Linked DNA regions of Homo sapiens: regions 2, 3 and 4 are each linked to region 1. Evidence: promoter capture Hi-C in human tissues and cell types (Jung and others, 2019). All regions are on one chromosome and are shown on one strand. The core of a region is centred on a gene start or on the middle of the fragment in contact, and the rest is flanking DNA. Distances in the headings are between cores, read along the strand shown. Region 1 holds the start of RAB8A (RAB8A, member RAS oncogene family). Region 2 holds the start of OR10H1 (olfactory receptor family 10 subfamily H member 1). Region 3 overlaps EPS15L1 (epidermal growth factor receptor pathway substrate 15 like 1). Region 4 has its middle 4.0 kb from the start of CYP4F8.

What was found. The method cuts DNA at HindIII sites, captures the fragments that hold promoters and counts their contacts. A contact is called where the count stands out against the background at its distance.
Region 2: a contact is called between the fragment with the promoter of OR10H1 here and the fragment with the promoter of RAB8A in region 1, in 1 of the 25 tissues and cell types used here (liver).
Region 3: a fragment that was not itself captured here is called in contact with the fragment with the promoter of RAB8A in region 1 in 1 of the 25 tissues and cell types used here (spleen).
Region 4: a fragment that was not itself captured here is called in contact with the fragment with the promoter of RAB8A in region 1 in 2 of the 25 tissues and cell types used here (dorsolateral prefrontal cortex and lymphoblastoid cells).

The regions. Positions count from the first base shown.
Region 1 is chr19:16,110,024-16,113,336 of GRCh38, reverse strand. It overlaps RAB8A (RAB8A, member RAS oncogene family), which reads right to left and starts at 1,448. Exons shown (of 8, transcript NM_005370.5): 1 at 1,312-1,448. The coding sequence starts at 1,435. RefSeq lists a silencer at 1,406-2,065. The HindIII fragment of the contact is 16,619 bases long and covers 1-3,313 here.
Region 2 is chr19:15,814,015-15,817,292 of GRCh38, reverse strand. OR10H1 (olfactory receptor family 10 subfamily H member 1) reads left to right here and starts at 1,629. Exons shown (of 4, transcript NM_013940.4): 1 at 1,629-1,738. The HindIII fragment of the contact is 22,557 bases long and covers 1-3,278 here.
Region 3 is chr19:16,372,311-16,375,645 of GRCh38, reverse strand. All of the region lies in intron 22 of EPS15L1 (epidermal growth factor receptor pathway substrate 15 like 1), which reads left to right. Among named protein-coding and RNA genes, the nearest start is that of KLF2, 49 kb to the right of the region's middle. The HindIII fragment of the contact is 3,944 bases long and covers 1-3,335 here.
Region 4 is chr19:15,609,752-15,612,725 of GRCh38, reverse strand. It overlaps the pseudogene RPL23AP2. Among named protein-coding and RNA genes, the nearest start is that of CYP4F8, 4.0 kb to the left of the region's middle. The HindIII fragment of the contact is 7,491 bases long and covers 1-2,974 here.

The DNA of each region.
Region 1 (3,313 bases), core at 199-2,698:
GGGAGATAACACGATTCTGTCAAAGTGACACAGTAAAGCAAAGGCCATTCCCTAGGTTTTCTTGAGTCGGAATAAACTCCTGGACTTAGTGACCGTTCCCCCACTTTCCCCATCCCTAGCAGGGCTACAGAGCTCACAAGCCACTCAAATAGGTGTTACTCCTGGGTCAAACCTTTTCATTGTGGGCCAGGACTGCTTTTGTGGCACTGAGAGAGGTCAGCTCCACTTCTGTGGACATCACAACTGAGATGCACCAAGCCAATTCTGTTCAACCACAATGTGGGCTGGCCCTACAGGAAAAGCTGTTCTAAAGTGACAGCTGGAGTCTTGGGCCCTTTGATAGGGAAGTCAAGGCTGTCTGTGGCAGTGGCTGATTTAGTTTCTCGCTGAGGCTTTTATCTTGCATCTTCTTGGGGATGACAGGTCCCAGGGCAGGCAGTGCTGTCACTTGCCATTGCTGTCATTCCTGGAGCAGGATGAAAGGTGGGCAGGGAAAAGGTCCTGACTCTTCTTATCATTCCTTCTAGAGGAAAATACGCTTATGAGGGGAAGCATGGTCAGGGAGAGGGGCTCAACCTCTGAACGCTCCAGAGAAAAGAGCAGGAATGGTGTGGGTTAGAGTCCCGGCTCCAAGGTGCATTAGCTGAGCTTGTCATCAGCTGGGAGTGTGCAGTGGCATCTCTCTAGGAGAGCTAAGCCTCGAGTTTTGGGTTGAGACACAGCCAGGTTCAAATTCCATCAAATCCCATTCTCACCACGTGCAGACTGTGTGGCCTTGGGCAAGTTCCATGCCCTCCCTGAGCCTCAGATTCCTCATCTTGTCAGACGGGCTCATAACAGCACTTAACACCAAGAACTGAAGAGTGTGAAAATGCACGTGAAGCACTTGGCACATAGTAAATGCTCATTAAGGTGAGATGCCACTGTCTTTTTCCCATGGCCAATTCCCCATGACTCAGTTTCCACTTCTGTAAGGCAAGAGCCTCAAAAGAACCGCTTCGAGGGCTGCTGCTAGGACAGATCGAGAGGACGGGCGCGAAGACCCCAGCCCAAGACATAACACGCCCTAACGAGCGGGCTGAGGGTCGGAGCCTCAGTCTCCCTATCTGCAAAATGGGCACCTGGTCTCCCCCACCACGGCCCAGGAACCCCCGAACGGCGGTGCAGGCGACTGCTCTTCTCCCTTTAGGCCCCCTCGACCCTCTCAGCGCCCTCGGCCCGTCCAGCCCTGTAGATCCCTCAGCCCCAGCCCCTCAGGGGCGCGCCCAGCCCGGGCCTCCGGCGCCCCCAGCCATTCCCCGGTCCCGTTACCTATGGTGGAGATAAAAGTGGAGTTGAAGGCGTCCTCGGAGAAGCGGAACAGGACACAGGTCTTCCCCACCCCCGAGTCCCCGATCAGCAGCAGCTTGAACAGGTAATCGTAGGTCTTCGCCATATTACACTCTCTCCCCGACGGGAAGTGCGGCCAGCGCCTCTCCACTGGCCACCAGCACCGTCCATCAGCACCGAGCCCGCCCCTTATTGGCTCCAGGCCCGCTGCGCGTCACCGCGGCCGACGCCCGCCCCTGCGTCCCGCCAGTCGCGGGGAGACCTTGGGAGGGGGCGAGCGGAGCGCGGAGCCGGAAGCAGCCCGAGCGCACCTCCCATTGGCCGGCACTAGGGAGAGCACGGGCTCTGATTGACCAGCAGTGAAGAGTCGCGGGGCTTCAAATGGGGACGAGGCGGGGGCGTGGCATTATGTGGCCCCCGCCTTCCACCCCCGACTCGGGCGGCCCGGCCCCGCCCCACTGTAGGAGAGGGAAGGCAGGGAGCGGCGCCAACCGCTCGCGCGCCGGCAGCCTGGCGGGGCGTGGCTTGGGGTGCGTGCGCACGCGCGCCCGGAGTTCCGTTAGGCGACAGCAGAGGGCGCACGCCAGTAGTTGGGGCGGGTGTCTCTGGGTCCCGCCCTCACAGCTCGCGCAGGCGCAGTAGGCACCGAGGCGAGCGCGGGAAAGCAAGGTAGCGCTCTCAGCCTTGTCTGCGGCCTGCGAGTCGGGGCAGTGGGGGCCTAGGGAGGAAGGAGAGAGGAGGAGCTGTATACTCGAAAAGTGACCCAAGCCGGACGCGGTGGTTCACGCCTTTAATTCCCACACTTTGGGAAGCCGAGGCGCGTGGATCACGAGGTCAGGAGTTCAAGACCAGCCTGGCCAAGATGGTGAAACCCCGTTTCTACTAAAAATACAAAAATTAGCCGGGCGTGGTGGCGGGCGCCTGTAATCCCAGCCACTCGGGAGGCTGAGGCAGAGAATTGCTTGAATCTGGGAGGCGGAGCTTGCAGTGAGCCGAGATCGCGCCATTGCACTGCAGCGTGGGCGACAGAGAGAGACTCCGTCTCAAAAAAAATAAATAAAAGTGACCCAAGACGAGCTCCGAGGTCTGCGGCCTAGCGATCTGCTTAGAGATACCCAAGGCCTCCGCCATCTGAGCGGCTTCACCGCCACAAGCTGTGCCCGGAAGCGCGCGCCGGCCTCCTCAGGGCCCGCCCTCGGCCACCTTAGGGGTTGTCCGGGCCAGCCCGGGGATGGTGGGGGGGGAGGGGTTAGAGCAGTGAGGATGCTGGGTCCTATCTAGGGGCCAGGGCTCTCAACGTTGAAAAAACTGGCCGGGGCGTTGGCTCCCGTCTGTGATCCCAGTGCTTTGGGAAGCCAGGAGGTTGAGGGTGCAGTAAGCCGTGATCGCCCCACTGCAATTCGGCCTGGGCGACAGAGCAAGACCCTATCAAAAGAAAAAAAGGCTGGGCGCGGTGGCTCAGGCCTGTAATCCCGCACTTTGGGAGGCCGAGGCGGGCGGATCAGGAGGTCAGGAGATCGAGACCATCCTGGCTAACGCGGTGAAACCCCGTCTCTACTAAAAACACAAAAAATTACCCGGGAGTAGTGGCGGGCGCCTGTAGTCCCAGCTACTCGGGAGGCTGAGGCAGGAGAATGGTGTGAACCCGGGAGGCGGAGCCTGCAGTGAACCGAGATCGCGCCACTGCACTCCAGTCTGGGCGACAGAATGAGACTACGTCTCAAAAAAAAAAAAAAAAAAAAAAAGAAAGAGAAAAACAGAGGAGAGATACATTTGGAAAATCGGGCTTGCAGCTGGGTGTGGTGGCTCAGGCCTGTAATCCCAGCACTTTGGGAGTCAGCACTTTGGGAGGCAGGAGGATTGCTTGAGCTTAGGAGGTCAAGACCAGCCCGGACAAGATAGGGAGATCCCCATCTCTACAACAAATAAAATTAGCTGGGCGTCATGGTGCACGCTTGTAATCCCAGCACTTTGGGAGGCTGAG
Region 2 (3,278 bases), core at 380-2,879, 300 kb after region 1:
AAGGCAGGAGAATCGCTTAAGCCCAGGAGTTCCAAGAGCAGCCTGAGAAACAAAGTGAAATCCTACTCTCTACAGAAAAATTAAAAAATACCGTTTGGCTACTGTGAACAGTGCTGCTATGCACATTTGATGTCCAAGGATTTGTTTGAATCCTTTTCCATTCTTTTGGGTGTATACCTAGGAGTGAAATTGCTGAGTCCTTTGATAATTTCTATGTTAACTTTTTGATAAACTGTCAAACCATTTTGTGTGTTTTTAAAATGCAGATCTGATTCTCCCGTAGATATCTTTCCGTAACTTGGTTTTTCACTCAGCGTCTTAGAGTGAACTCTGTGTGAGTTTATGCAGACCAAAGTTTCTCAGTCTTGGCAATGTCGACATTTTTGTGTTGACAAAATGGCTGGAGTGCCGTGGCTACTCACAGGGGCAATCATAATGCATCGTTATATATAGTAGTATATAGTCCCATTTATATGAAATGTCTAGAATAGGTAAGTCCATAGAGCCAGAGCCAGAAAACAAATTGGTGGTTTTGAAGGACTGGGTGGGGTAGGGGAGTGGCTGCTAATGGGTATTAGGTGATGAAAACATTTTGGAACTAGACAGAGGCGGCGGCCACACAACATTGTGAATGCATTCAATCCCAGGGAATTGTATACTTTAAAGTGGTTGATTATTTTATGTGAATTTCACCTCAAAAGCAGAACGAAGCGAAAGCAACAATAATGCACAACAGAACTCTGATTTTATGGGTTTGCATTGTTTTCACATCCTACATGCTCATGAAGATCTGAAGGGATACCCATTAAATTCACCGTCACGATTGCCTGGCTGGCCATTGCATGGTTTGCTGCTTTGTATGTAGCATTTCAATTACATAATAAGAAGAAACAGGCCAGGCATGGTGGCTCACAGCTGTAATCCCAGCACTTTGAGAGGTCAAGGTGGGAGGATCCCTTGAGCCAAGGAGCTCAAGACCAGCCTGGGCAACAAAGCGAGACCCCATCTCTACAGAAAAATTAAAACTTAGCCCAGGTGTGGTGGCAAGCACCTTTACTCCCAGCTGCTCAGGAGGCTGAGGCAGGAGAATCATTTGAGCCTGGGAGGTTGAGGCTGCAGTGAGCCATAATCACACCACTGCACTCCAGCCTGGGCAACAGAGCTAGACCCTGTCTCAAAAAATAAAAATAAAAACAAATACGTGTGTGTGTGTTGGTTTTAAAAAATTATTTTAAAGGACATTTAGTTGGGCAAATGACCCAGTTGGAGAAGAATGAAGGTGACGGGGCATATCAAGGCAGCCTCTGCAGTCCCTGGGGGCAATGGCAGGGCTGCCCTCCTGTCAATTTCAACAGTCATGGGCCCAAACCCCAAATCTGTAGAGCACTAGACTCTGCTCAAGCTCTTGACAAGCTCAGGGAATTGACTCACCCCTGGCAGGCGGGGGGAATGGGAAAGTGAGGATACAGATTCCCTGAGGTTGCCTCCTCTCTGGCAGGGTCCCTGGGGTCCCAGCATCCCTGTAGCGGAGACAGAGACAGTAGGACCACAGCGAGGGAAGCCGGTGGGCAGGGAGTCAGGGAGGGATAAATAATCGCATTTGGGCTCAGTCAAGCCCCCGGCTCAGCTGGTGTGGCTGCTTGGTGCAGCCCACACCTGGTCAGCTCCCACCTGTGGAGAAACTCCAAACTAGAGCCTCCTACTGGGATGAAGCAGAAGCAGATGCCTGGAGTCCCAGGTGAGTCACCTCCCCTCTCAGCCACCTGACCAGGAGAGACCTGGGGAACCAGCACCTGCCAGGGACTCCAAGAAACCACCTGTTTATATTACTCCTTTAGCAATGTGAGTCTACAGGGCAGTGGGTGACAGGCAGAGGCCACTCACCACGTCTTAGTCAGTGTGCTGTTTGCTTAGCAGGACTTACCTTCTTCTATTTTTTTTTTTTTTTTTTTGAGACGGAATCTCGCTCTGTAGCCCAGGCTGGAGTGCAGTGGCGCAATCTCGGCTCACTGCAACCTCCGCCTGCCAGGTTCAAGCGATTCTTCTCCCTCAGCCTCCTGAGTAGCTGGGACTACAGGTGCGTGCCACCATGCCTGGCTAATTTTTTGTATTTTTAGTAGAGACAGGGGTTTCACCATGCTGGACAGGCTGGTCTTGAACTCCTGATCTCGTGATCCACCCGCCTCGGCTTCCCAAAGTACTGGGATTACAGGCATGAGCCATCGTGCCCAGCCAGGACTTGCCTTCTTTAGAGCTCCTGCTGCCTCATGAGGTAGGTCCCTTGGATGGGGGAGGTAACAGGTGCAGAGAGAAGACAGCCAATGCTCAATGTGACCCAAGGTGATGGTTTGATTTTAACCTCTCTTCTCGGTCTGTCCAGGCAAGAAGTCTACGGAAAAAGGATTGGGAAGAGGCGGAGAAAAGAGAGAAAGAGGATTCAGGGTTCAGAAGCTCCAGCCACCACCCCAGGGTGTAAAGAATCAGGGTGGGCCGGGTGCAGTGGCTCATGCCTGCAATCCCAGCACTTTGGGAGGCCAAGGTGGGAGGATCACTTGAGTCCAAGAGTTTGAGGCCAGCCTGGGCAGCATAGTGAGACCCTGTCTGTACAAAAAAATACAAAAATTGGCCAGGAATGGCAGGCACCTGTAGCTACTCCAGAGATTGAGGTGGGAGGATTGCTTGAGCCCAGGAAGTTAAGGCTGCAGTGAGCTGTGATTGTGCCTCTGCACTCCAGCCTGGGTGACAGAGGGATACCCTGTCTCTCTCTCTCTCTCTCTCTCTCTCTCTCTCTCTCTCTCTCTCTCTCTCTCTCACACACACACACACACACACACACACACACACACAAGGGAGGCGTCAATGGGAGCAGGTGGTGAGGGAATGGTTAGGAGCTGGGGATGAGAAGATGGAGAGAAAAGAGAGGGAAGTGGTGGCTTAAGTGGAAGAGAGGGGAGGCCAGACAGCTTCACTAAGAAGAGAGAGCCAGGATGGGTGAGAGTTAAGGCCAGATGGGGTCTCAGAGACAAGACAGGCCTGGCCCATGGAGTGATGCTGTCACCCAGGAGACACGTGACAACGTATAAGGACATTTCTGATTGTCGTGACTGGGGAGTGCTGCTGGTATCTATCTGGTGGGTGGAGACCAAGAATGCTGCTCAGTCTCCTGCAGTGCACAGGACACCCCTCTGAGAGAGAATGATTCGCCCCTAGCGTCCCTAATGCTGAAGGCAGGAAACCCTGCTCTAGGGATGTCTGTGGCAGGACTTGTCCACAGCCAC
Region 3 (3,335 bases), core at 466-2,965, 260 kb before region 1:
AGGAAAAACAAAACAACAAAGGGACTCCCTTCCATCTGCAAGAGGCCACCTGTGCCTTACACAGAGGCAGTGGCTCTTCAGGGATCCTTGTTGGCTTCCTGATGGAACGGCAGTGGGCCTCTTCACTCTGCCTAAAAGATGGGAGCAGAAGCACACACACACACACACACACACACACATATATGCATAATCACAATGCATGCACACAGCTGGCACACATGCATGTGCACATTCCCACGTGCGGCCATGTATTTTTATGCATGTATGTGCACGTACACGTGTATGCTCTTGCATGCACATGTGTACCCTGTGTACACACATCCTCCACGCCTGCAGACACATGCATGCATGCACCTGTTTGCACATGAACACACATGCATACAGGTGAGCATGCATTCACATACATACTGCATCACATGAGTATTCTCGCATGTGCCTGCATGTACGCATATGCAGGCACACACGCACTCTCCCATGCACCCCTCCGTGCACACTCTCCATGCTTATATGCATCTGTGGACATGTGTGCATATTCTCTTGTCAGTACACACATGCATGCATAGAGATGAGCAGCATGCACTCACATACTGCATTGTGCATGCCTGCACACACACATGCTCTCATAGATAACAGCTGGGCATGCACACCCTCCATGCTTATATATGTGCATGCATTCATTGAGACATGCACATATTCACATGTGAACATATACATGAATACAGGTGAGCATTACACAGATATTGCATAATGCATGCATGCAAACGTGCACACACATATGCGTGCGTGTGTGCTCATACACACCCGGGCATGCACACTCTGTGCTTACATACGTGTACACACATTTACACACATGTGCACGTATTCTCATATGGGTGCACACACTTGCCGAGCAGTGCCGTATTTGCTGGGCCCTGAGGAGGAGCCATCCCACTCAACAGCTCACAGGTGCAAAGCTTCATTTTCAGTGTTTCATGGAAACCGCCACCCCCGCCTCCCCACGTACCTAAACCCGGCGCTGGGTCTGCTTTTGAACTTTCCCTCAGTTATCACCTCCCATCGTGTCTCCCTCTGCAAGCCTACCCACCCCACCTTGGCTTCTGCTGTTAGTGTACTGTGGGCTTCGAAAGCAGAAAAGAATGCTTGTTAAAAGTAGAACGTTTGATAACGGGAGTTTGGGTGACTTCCTTGGGCCTGGCTTCAGGGTTCAGGCTTTTTAGGGAGCTGTTGCACAATTTGAGACCCAGGGGGTCCTGGGCTCCTTTACTCGTGGCACAGGCCACTGCATCTTTGTTCTGCTGTGGTTGATGGTTGCTGTGCCACTCGGTGCTCTGCAGAAATATATTAACATTGATGGGCCCTTAGGAAGTGCTTGAACAGTTCTTATCTCACTAGGTCCCAGCAAGACCCGTGAGGGAGACAGGCCAGGCCATGCCCATTTCCTGGAAGAGGAAAGGCGGGGAGGGAGGTCATGGGGGCTCCCCAAGGTCACACAGCAAGGTGGCAGCAGGGCCAGGTCTACACCCAGTGACCTGCCTCCTGCCCCAAGACAGGAGTAACGAGAACCAAGCCATGAGCTTCAGAACATTCTCTAAAACAGCCAATGCACGCGCAGCATTTTAAGTCCGGAGCAACTGCAGATCTGTGTGGAGGCCTAAATATTTCTCATTTGATTCTTTTACCCAGAAGCAATGGCTGAACAGAAAAATTCTGCATTGTACTCGCTGCTGGGTGGTAGGTACAGACCGTGTGGTGGTTGCCGTTTGAGCTTGCAGCATTATTTGTGCTGTGATTCCGTACTAACCTCTAACAGTCCAAACACTGAGTTGACCCAGTGGTTGACCTTTGGTGAGTCACATGTTGGGGAGAAGTGTTTGGCTCTTTGGGGAATTGCAAAGGAAGATGCTTGCCCTACCCTTGCTCTCTGGTCAAGGGAATCAGAGCCGGGCTCTGTACAATTCCCTTCCCGGTTCCTGGCCACACGGCACAGACCCACGTGCAGCCCAGGAGGCCTCTGGTTATGGGCAAGAGCGGTCAGCAGATGAGTGTCGGGTGAAGTCGTGCTCAGAAAGTTCGCCAGGAAGACACAAGGCAGATCTCTTGTTTTCTTGGCTTCTTTAAGACAGAAGATAGTGAAGCTAATCTGTGAATTTTTTTTTTTTTTTTTAAGCATAAAGTCCAACGTTTTCAAACTGCTGGACTTTATGTTTTCTTAAAACAAACAAACAAACCAAAAAAAGCCTTTCTGCCTTTCTTGCTACCCCAGGCTTTTTCTGCTCAGGGAGACCACACGGCCAGCACACAGTGACGGCCGCCTTCCCCTGGCCACCCCAGGGCTTCCCAGATGCTGGGGCTTTGCGCGAGATGCGTGGGTCCCAGCGTGGCTGAGTGAGGAGGAAGGTGAAATGCGACCCCCTGTGAGCCTGGCGGTCGAGCCTTGAGCTGGTGGAGATAGACAGACTGACAAAAAGTCTGAAGGACCCATAGGCTGTCCAGTGGGCAGTCTTAAACATGCACACAGCGTTGACACCTGCACTCATGGAAATCACAATGAAGGAACAAGCTTTTCTGTCATCTCTCCGCCTGGCACATGGAACATGTCTGATGTCCCATGCTCCCATCCAGGGTTTGTCCATCCCAGGGCACCCAGAGGTTTCTAGAACCCTGCTAGGCCTCTGTGCCAGGAAATGGCTGATGTGTGAGGCCAGGACAGGAGAACTGAGGCCGCTTCCTTCTGTCCTCTGGGCAGCCAATTCTGCTAGAATCCAGGGGACTGCTTGATCAGGCTGGTTTCTGGACATTGGAGGAAAGGGAGGCCCCGGGTGGGTCACTTAACCTCCCTGAGCCTCAGTTTTCCTGCCTGACCATGGGACCCACTCAGGCCTAGCAGGTGGGTGTGTGGGTGAAGCGCCTTGCACGGTGACGTGCTGTATGTGGTCTGTAGCCCCCATCCCCACCCTGCGGCACAGGGACCGGGACGCAGGCTTCTGCCATATGGGCACCTTTTCCAGGAAAGACAGGCTGGGCAGCTGAGGTGGCTGCACACATTCTGGGAGTCATTAATTGGGCCCTTTTCTCCCTGTGAGGTCACAGTTTAGTGGAAATCTTTTCCGTTAAAAAAAGCGTGCAGGGAGTTGAACTTCAAAGAGGGCTCCAGCGTCCTCTGTGGGTCATCGCTCATACAGGACCAAATGTGAGTTTGGGTCTGAGTCACGTGTGGCTTTGGTGCCATCTCTTGTGTTCTAGAGGCTGCAGTTTTCAAATTCCGTGGGAGCTGCTTGTCTTATTTTGTTTAAAGGTCAATTGAGGTGAAATTGACATTTGGTGTGGCTGGCATG
Region 4 (2,974 bases), core at 184-2,683, 500 kb after region 1:
CATACCACGATGGAATTGGAGAAATTACAATTGGAGTAGAAACCTTTTAACTTTCTACACGTCTCTGTTGCTTCGTTTTTCAAGCTGGGATGCTATAAATGTAATAATTAAAACAATTTTTTTTTTCCTCTGAAGTCCTTGTCCTTTATTGGGCAAGGGGTGAGGGAAGCAGACAGACCGGTTGGACACAGTAGATGGGTGTGTGAGGACAAAATGCTACCAGAAAGCCAGCCAATCCACACTCCCCTGAAATGGATGCTAACGCCCTTCAAACCCTGGGCATTGGTTTCATACACAGCCTCTTCCAGGGATAAAAGGGGTTCTTGTACAGCTTCTTGTTACCCTCAACCATGGAGGCAAGTTCTGAGTTCTGGTTTTCCTAGGACACTAACTCTAGTCACAAAGATCTCTGGAGTGATCACACATGGTGGAGTGGCAGGGTGAATATTTCAAAAGGATAAGTAGAACAGGAGTCTTGCCCAAGCCCTGTCATGTCAGTGTCTGTGTGTGGCCTCCCAGCCCAACCAGAAATTGACAGAGAGGCATGTATATGGTGAAAAGATATATATATATATATTCAGAATTAGGCAGCTGCACTCAGTTTAGATAATCCCAATTTTGTTGGCAACATCCAAAGCATCGTAATCAGGAGTCAGTCGAACATATACCTTCTTCTCTCCATCAGGCCGAATCAGGGTGTTGACCTTGGCCACATCAATGTCATAGAGCTTCTTCACAGCCTGTTTGATCTGGTGCTTGTTGGCTTTAACATCCACAATGAACACAAGTGTGTTGTTGTCTTCTATCTTCTTCATGGCAGACTCAGTGGTCAGCGGAAACTTGATGATAGCATAGTGGTCAAGCTTGTTTCTCCTGGGAGCGCTCTTCCGAGGATATTTGGGCTGTCTCCGGAGTCGCAGTGTCTTCGGCCGCCGGAAGGTGGGTGACGTGTGGATCTTCTTTTTGTGGCTGTGGACACCTTTCAACACTGCCTTCTTGGCCTTTAAAGCCTTCGCTTTGGCTTCGGCTTTAGGAGGGGCAGGAGCTTCCTTCTTCACTTTCGGCACCATCTTGTGAAAAGGGTCCAAAACAAATTTTTTTAAATAAATAAGGATTTGGTACAGTGGGGACACAGTTGATCCACAACATAGGTGAGTAGTTCTGTTTCGTTTTGTTTTGTTTTGCTTTGCTTTGTTTTTTGAGACAGAGTCTCACTTTGTCACCCAGGCTGGAGGGCAATGGTGCCAATCTCGGCTCACTGAAACCTCCGCCCCACCAGGTTCAAGCGATTATCCTACCTCAGCCTCCCGAGCAGCTGAGATTACAGGCATGAGCCACCACACCCAGCTAATTTTTGTATTTTTAGTAGAGACAGGGTTTCACCATATTGGCCAGGCTGGTCTCCAACTCCTGACCTCAAGTGATCCAACCACCTCGGCCTCCCAAAGTGCTGGGATTACAGGCGTGAGCCACTGCGCCCAGCCAATAGGTGAGTTGTTCTTACTGTGTCACCATGAAGACCCAGCTCCCAGGAATCGGCCTGCAGTCTCCCTAGAACAAGCACACGGGCTGCCCACTAGCTGGAGTTTCACCTTCCCTGTCCTTGAATGCTCAGGAAGGAACACATTCTGGCTTCAGCACAACTGAGTTCAAGTCCAGGCTCTGCCACTCACTAGCTGTGTAACCCTCTGAGTCTCATAGCCTCCTCGATAAAATGCAAAGGTCAAGTTCTAACTTTTAGGTAATTAGTTTCTCAACAACAAACTTCACATGAACACTTAAATGGTAGCAGGCATGGTGCTAGGACCTGGGACACAGGTTGAACAAGACAGACGTGGTCTCTGCTGATAACCTACCAGTCACATTAGTCCCAATTAGCCCCCGGAAAAGATCTCTTGATGCATGGGTTACATCCTGTTCCTGAGTAAAGAATCTTGTGAGTTCCTCAAATCTTATCTTTAATTACTCAGATCTTATGAGTTCTTCCAACTGTTGATGTTCTGATTTTCCACTGATATGGAAAAGCACAATCCTTTGTTTCTAAACCATGAAGTTTTGCTTTATATTTATAAATCATAAAGTTTTTCTTTTCTTTTCTTTTTTTTTTTGAGACAGGGTCTTTGTCACCCAGGCTGGAGTGCAGTGGCGCAGTCTCATCTTACTGCAACCTCCATCTCCTAGGTTCAAGCAACCTTCCTGCCTCAGCCTCTCGAGTTGTTGGGATTGCAGGCATGTGCCACCATGCCCAGCTAATTTTTGTATTTTTAGTAGAGCAGAGTTTCACCATATTGGCTAGGCTGGTCTCGAACTACTGGCCTCAGGAGCGATGAGCTTCTCCTCAAGGGATCTGCCCGTCTCAACCTCCCAAAGTGCTGGGATTACAGGCATAAGCCACTGTGCCCTCTCTTATAAAGTTTCACTGATGGTTTTACATACAAAATGTTTTAGCCTGTATGTTATAACCTGTATCTAATCATTATGACCTCTGTATTATACCCTCCAATAAAAACAGACAATTCTGATATAAGAAGTTCCCTTCTCTTCTCCTAAACTTTCTTATAAAAACATTCCAAATTGTAAAAGATTCTGGCACACATCCAAATGTGTTGGTGCATCTTTCTGGGTTGATCCTCACCTTTGGCTTCAAATAAACCCTTATCAAAGTATTTCTGCCTCGGCAGCTTTAATTTCACTCCACAAAATGATGTAGTCATCAGTGTTTCAGAGTGGCCTCCCTGGTCACCCTGGACCTTCCTGAGCAGGTTTCAACCTTCATGCACGGAATCCATCGTGTTCCCCCAACTGGGATGCCCCTGCTGGATGCAACAGATAAGTTTCTCCTGAAATCAACGAACTTCCTGTTTTAGGCAAAGTTCTGCCTTATTGAAGCTGCTTTCCCCCTTGGCTAGGAGGTGCAGTGATGTTCTCAGAATAAGAGCTACTGCTACAAATTTAAGGTAAGGGTTTTTGTTGA